2 separate regions of the Homo sapiens genome follow, and region 2 is linked to region 1. The links are contacts of gene promoters, found by promoter capture Hi-C in human tissues and cell types (Jung and others, 2019). All regions are on one chromosome and are shown on one strand. The core of a region is centred on a gene start or on the middle of the fragment in contact, and the rest is flanking DNA. Distances in the headings are between cores, read along the strand shown.

The links. The method cuts DNA at HindIII sites, captures the fragments that hold promoters and counts their contacts. A contact is called where the count stands out against the background at its distance.
Region 2: a fragment that was not itself captured here is called in contact with the fragment with the promoter of SECISBP2L in region 1 in 1 of the 25 tissues and cell types used here (hippocampus).

Annotation. Positions count from the first base shown.
Region 1 is chr15:49,044,543-49,047,991 of GRCh38, forward strand. It overlaps SECISBP2L (SECIS binding protein 2 like), which reads right to left and starts at 1,904. Exons shown (of 18, transcript NM_001193489.2): 1 at 1,734-1,904. The coding sequence starts at 1,757. RefSeq lists enhancers at 1,361-1,500, 1,791-2,140, 2,241-2,370. The HindIII fragment of the contact is 5,737 bases long and covers 873-3,449 here.
Region 2 is chr15:48,898,228-48,901,676 of GRCh38, forward strand. The region is part of intron 2 of SHC4 (SHC adaptor protein 4); the gene reads right to left. Among named protein-coding and RNA genes, the nearest start is that of EID1, 22 kb to the left of the region's middle. The HindIII fragment of the contact is 7,421 bases long and covers 1-3,449 here.

The sequences.
Region 1 (3,449 bases), core at 654-3,153:
TAGGGAAGTGGAGGATTTTCAAATTATTCTTTCATTTAGGGTTAGGCTGGGGAAGAGGCAAGAAGTACTGGAAGAAAAAAAAGTCAACAGAAAACCTTCTTCCATGTTTTTTTCCTAGTTCTTAAATTTCTACAAGGTTTTAATAGGTCGTGGACTTTGGAAAGATGTGGAAAGGGGAAAAGGCTCTCTAGTTTAAATAATTTGCTCACAGCACTTGCTGCTAGGATAATCACAAACAGCTATGCTAAAAATTACCATCTAAATAGTTAATTATATTTCCTCTAGGATGAAAGGAACTCTAAGTATACATAAGGTAGCATTACTGGTTTTAGTCCTGGCATCCTAGTGAAGGAACAAAATGTTGAACCCTTTCATTAGTAACACACATACAAGGAAATGATTCAAGGAAAATTCGTATTCATTTGTCAGGCTTTGAAATCTCAGGTATTTATGATAGATACCTTCAAAAATGTTTTTAAATTAAACTAGATACAGGCTGTATACAGAATACTTCTGGGTCACATAAATGCCTAAGTGTATTTGCCAAGAGACTCTGTATCAATTTCTCTTTGGTAATTCCATGTATTGTTTTATAAAACTCATTTGTGTCTTCAGAGTTACATTCACATAAAGCTTTTTTTTAAAAAAAAAAGTCTTCTGTAAAAACAAGTATACACAACTAGGAAGCTGTGCTTTGCCTGCTAAGAGTCCGATTTCAAAATACAAACCGGCTTCAACTACATATAGACACATACAGGAATTTGGGAAATCTTATCTCATTAATTCAGGTGCTAATTATCCAACTGTAAAATTAATAGGCAGAAATTACTAGCCTCTCTTCTTCCGTCATCTAGTCATCAATGGGCAAGGCCTTCGAAGAAGGGAATAGAGAGTGAATAAACTTGGACTTCAAATTAAGTCGTTTCGCAGAGATCTTAAGAGTGGAAAATACTGGGGGGGAAACTATTGTTTTCGATTACTTTTAACACTGTTATCATCCCTGCCTGCTACCACCTACTAGCATGCATAATCAGGAATTTGATGCAAATAAAAATAAAACAGAACACTAATAGGACTACTTTGCGAATATGAAAACGGGTTCGAAAATAAGCTTATGCTTTACACCCTTAAAATAGAGCTAGCTTTAAAAAAAAACCCACTAATTACAATTCTTTGCAAAATAACTGGATAAAAGGACAAGGGGAAATCGTAGTATCGTTTCTTAAAAGAAACACCTCCGTAAAACCACTGCAAAAACAATGCTTCGCTCCATTGAACACAGACCTAAAAGGCCCGTGACTTCCCTTCATCTGTAGTTACCACACATTCTCTTACAGTCTTTCTGGGTGAGAAGCCTTCAAACGCCTTTCCACCTTGAAAACACATTCCAGAGCTGAAGGGAATGGGGGAAGCGGGGAGACTACTAGAAGTTATAAGCCCTCCTCCCAGGAGAGCAGGGACAACTTGGAGCCTTCTGACCCCTTCACCAAGCAGGGGAGAAGCGGCAACGGCGAGCCCTCCGCCTGGGAAGTAATCAGGGTTGGAAAAGCCCCCAAGTCCCAGGCAGCAGCTGGAACAATGAAGGAGAGCTGGGAGCTGCCAGGCTCCCAGGTGAGGGGGTCTGCGGCCGCAGGACCGGCCCCCGGTCCCCACGTTCGGAGAACTGGGCCTGGCCTGTGAGGAAGCGGCGACCCCAACCCCCGGCTCGGCGGGCCCAGCCCAAACCCGCGTACCTGCTCCGTGGGGGCTCGGTCCATGGTGCCTGCAGCCGCAACGGGCCCGCGCTAGTCGGTGTAAACAGCGCCTCGGGCCGCTTTCTCCATGGCCCCCCGCTCGGGTCCAGACTGGGTTCCGGACCTCCGCCCCTATCTGGCTGGCCGCGACACCGATTCGGCTACGCCACTGGCCGAGGAGGCGGCTCCAGCTCCGGGAGATGGAGGAGGCGGTGGCAGCTTCGGGGAGGGATCATCTGGGACGGAAGCCGAGGAGGGCCCGAATGGGCTGGAGGCGTAGTTAGAAATGGAGGCGCACGGAAGGAAAAGGAGTGGGGAGGAGGCAGAGAGGGGCAGTGGGCGGAGTGACAGCAAATGGCCTCAGCAAGGGTAGGAGGAACCCGGCCTGGCCTGGAGGCTAAGGCCAGGTGGAGGCGCCCAGGAGCAGGTGCCCCGAACCACACGCCACCCCTGCGACTGTTAAACGAGAAGTGTCAGACCACTTGGGACCCAGGTCTCCCGGGACTTCAAAGACCTCTTCAGGATCTGAAACCACCTCTTAGTGATGTTGGAAAAGCTTTCATCTGCCCACCGTACATCTGCTCCTTCCTTATGTTACGCAAATAAAGGGAGTCATGACTATAAAGGAATGAGAATATTCTGAAAATAATGGAGTCTTGCCCTAGAAAAATGCATATGTAAAACGCATACACAGAATGACTGGAAGAGGCCCGCTAGGAAGCTCCCCACAAATATTTATTGAGAGTTAATTCATTATCCAGGTTCATGCCCACTTCTAGGCTCACATCCAGGCTGACCTCGCCCATCTCAGAAATCCTAATTTTATGCAGGATCTGTATAACACCACCCAACGGGTAATTATTTTATCTTCAGATCCTTAGCTCCTTAAGGGCAGAGACTGTCTTGAAACTGGGCACTACCGTTAGCATGGCAAATTTCTTCTGGGCATCTCCTCAGACACACCCTCCAACACCCACACCCTCTGTGAAGATTCAACCAACTGCGGATAGAAATATTTTGAGGAAAAAAGAAATATCAAGTACAACAATAAAATACAAGTAATACAGTTTAACAACTGCTTATACAGCATTTACATTGTATTAGGTATTATAAGTAATCTAGAGATGATTTAAAGTATATCGGAGGATATGCATGGATTGTATGCAAATACTACACCATTTTATATAAGGATCTTTAGCACTCATGGATTTTGGTATCAGCAGGGATCCTGGAGCCAATATCCCCCCTGGGATACTTAGGGACAACTGTATAAGCTAAATTACACTTAAGTGAAGGTAGAGTTGAGGTGGCTGCTGTTTGGGGCACTGGTGTGGAGATCCACAGCTAGGAATGGGAAAGAGATTTTAAGAAATTTGCTTTGTCATGCTTCAGGAGATATCAGTAAAGACTAATTGCCTTTTCAGTTAGTCTAGGTTATTAGTCTGGTTATTAGACTCCAATATGAGGCTTGTTATGTGAAGGCCCCTTGCTGTACTTATGTTGATACAGGTTGGGTATCTCTAATGGAAACTATGAAATTCCAAACCCTCTTGAATCCCAAATGTTCCAAAATTAGAAACTTTCTGAGCACAGACATGACATTTAAGGATAATGTTCGCTGGAACATTTCAGATTTTGGACTTCCAGTTTAGAGATGCTCAACCAGTAAGTATAATGCAAATCTTCCAAAATCCAAAATCTGAAACACTTATGGTT
Region 2 (3,449 bases), core at 674-3,173, 150 kb before region 1:
AGACAGGACACTTTAGAACAGGAACCTGCCTCTGTGGCGATAAGCACACAATGAACGCAGTCAGTGCCCACAGACCAGTTGAAAATGGAAAGCCTCAGACTTGCTTTGTGCTATTATCAAGGGGCATCACCCGTGTACTCTAGGAGGGTGAACTCAGCCTCATAAAATACATCCTTTCACTTTAGAAACAGGCACCTCGGGTCCCAGGATGGTCAAATAAAACCTTTGAGTACTGCCCACAGCATTTATCCCCACACTGACTTAGTGTCCCACTCTGTTCACCTGAATTGTACTTAAAGTCTGTTTCTAAAGTACATTTGCTAGCCAACCCAGCTCAGCAACCATAGGAAATGGGTTTGTCTGTCTACTTCGTGATTCTGCCCTTTGGCTCTGATGCAAATGTGAACCCATTAATCACACTGGAATGAAGTGAAGGACCCTCTTGTCTGGAGTATCACATCTCCCCTATAACTCTCACTAGTTAACGGACATTAAGTGCTGGTTTTTTCCTGTCCCCACAGAGATTTCCTGTAATACAATCATGTATCTCAAAATTCAAACACCTACACCCACAAACTGATGGCTTATAGGCTTTATAAGTGGTTAAAGAAATGACAATAAGAAATAGAGTTGGTTTCATATAAAATACATGGGAATTTATAAATTCAAAAGATTGTTCTCCTTTAGGGTAAACTGGGCTTCTTTAAAACAACTTTGTTTTTGACAAAATATTCAAAATATTATGAAGGTGTGTCTTTTGGAGTTAAAGAGTGCACTGATGCATAATGTGGTCACTTAAAAGCCAAAGCTCATTTAGAAAAAAAAAAAAAAAAAACCGAAAACAGGTCTTACTTAGTCACCCACTTTATTCACTCAAGCTCACTCTAAGCAATGTATATCTACTTCCAAAAATTCTTCAGAGAATACTTGGAATTTTAAAGATATTTAAAACAGTTTGGCCAGGTGTGGTGGCTCACACCTGTAATCTTTGTACTTTGGGAGGCCAAGGTAGGCGGATCACTTGAGGTCAAGAGTTTGAGACCAGCCTGGCCAACATCGTGAAACCCCATCTCTAGTAAAAATACAAAAATTAGCTGGGCATGGTGGTGCACATCTGTAATCCCAGCTATTAGGGAGGCTGAGGCAGGAGAATTGCTTGAACCGGGAGGTGGAGGTTGCAGTGAGCCAAGATTGTGCCATTGCACTACAACCTGGGTGACAGAGCAACCCTCCGTCTCAATAAATAAATAAATGAATAAATAAATAAACAAACAGTAAAACAGTTTGTCATACAGGTGTCTATATTACTGAGCAAGACAGCAATTGGTGTAATGAATATATTACTTCTACCACTGTTTTTTTTTTTAAATAACTCTGGTTCTTTTAAAGGCTATTTGGCAAATATGTTGTAAATTTTTTTGGGAATTCCATTTTTTTAAATGTGTGTGCACCTCTGGAAGGAACGAACAACTGGCCTACCAAGTTAATCCACCTTGACAAATAATAGTAGGACAACTTCAGCTTGCACATCCACAGAGAGTACACCATTTAGGTAAGTGGTGATCAAACTGTAAAGTTCTTAAGAATCAACTGGGTGCTGGTTAAAATACAGATTTCTAGGACTGTTCCTAGAGGTTTTGATTCTGAGGTGAGGCCTAGGAATCTACAGCTTAACAAACCTTCCAAGTGATTCTGACACAGAGTTCATGAACCACACAGCTGATTAAACCTACTTGGACTCGTTGCATTGAGTAACAGGTTCTGTGCTCTATAGCTTAGACCAGATGGTTGTGTTAGTGCGTGTTAAGGAATGAGGTCACCTCTTCCTAGAGGCTAGGCTAGGGAAGGTTACACTGTCTATACGTTTGATGATATTCCGTTCTGGGGAATTTTGTTTTCAATGTAGTCACTCTATATTCTGGGATAGATATTTGGTATAATCCTCTCTTCTCCTCTCTGCCTCCCCCATTCTCATCTCCTAAAGAAGAAGGGCTTTATGGCTGGGCGCAGTGGCTCACACCTGTAATCCCAGCACTTTGGAAGGGCTAGGTGGGAGGATGACCTGAGGTCAGGAGTTCAAGACCAGCCTGGCCAACATAGTGAAACCCCATCTCTACTAAAAATACAAAAGTAGCCGGAAGTGGTGGTGGGCACCTGTAGTCCTAGCTACTTGGGAGGCTGAGGCAGGAGAATCTCTTGAACCTGGGAGGTGGAGGTTGCAGTAAGCTGAGATCGTGCTACTGCACTCCTGCCTGGGCTACAGAGTGAGATTCCAACTCAAAAAAAAAAAAAGAAAAAAAGAAGAAGAAGAAGGGCTTTTACCAGAGGGCACATGGAGGTCCTGAACATCTTTGCTTACATCACCCTTTGCACACACAAGCAGTGAGAGAGTGGCCTGCATTCTCTCTCTTATCTGGAGGCAGCAAGGTCATCCTGGAGGCAGCAAGATCTAATCTATTTGCCCCTAAAATGCATTCAACACTCTAGGCAGTGGTTCTCAGCCTTGGCTGCACATTGGACTACACCACCAAGAATTTTACGAAGTTCTGAAGACTGGGTCTCAGCTCCAGAGATTCTGAATTAATTGGTGCCGGACAGGGCTTGGGGGTCAGAAGTTTTAAGATCTCTTCCAAATGCTTCCAACAAGGCTAAGGTTGAGAATCACTCTAGCAGCAGTTGGCAAACTTTTTCTGAAAAGGGCCAGGTAGGAAATATTTTAGCCTTTGCAGGTTATATAGTTTCTGTTACAGCTACTCAATTCTGCTGTTGTAGCTAGAAAAACAGCCATAGGCAATCCATAAACAAATGGATGTGCTTGTGTGCCAGTAACACTTATGGACACTGAAATTTGAATTCCATATGATTTTCATGTGTCACAAAATATTCTTTTGGGGTGTTTTTTCCAACCATTTAAAAATTGTCAAAACCATTCTTGGCTGACAAGGTGGCAAAATCGAAATCAGGTAGCAGGTGGGATTTGGCCTGCAGGCTGTTGTTCTCTGACTCTTGCTCTAAAGCAAACCGGAAACAAATGTAAGAGGCTTTGGGGTCGTGGTCAGTTATTAGCTTGTGCATGGTGCAAAGCTTATTAGAGTGTAATCTTTTGCAAGGATTGTTTATACATATTTTGAACTTTGTCTTGTTCGGTTTCTTGGTACAGGAAGTTGGGTATTATAAGAAAGGGGTCTTTCCCTATGTCAGTATAAGAATTATGGGACTCCCTTTACGCTGTAAATTATTGTTTTTCCATTCTTTTATTCTAACAGCACTCAGTAGAGGCAGATGGAAACAAATTATTTTTTCCTTTTAATTATCATCTAACCTTCATTAAGTGATACTATGTACATGAAACAGTGCAAAGTGTTTGGGCAAGCAATACAGAAATAAACAAAAGTGCAAAATTATAGTAACTGTTAAAATTTGATGGCTTTATCTATAACTCTACTTTC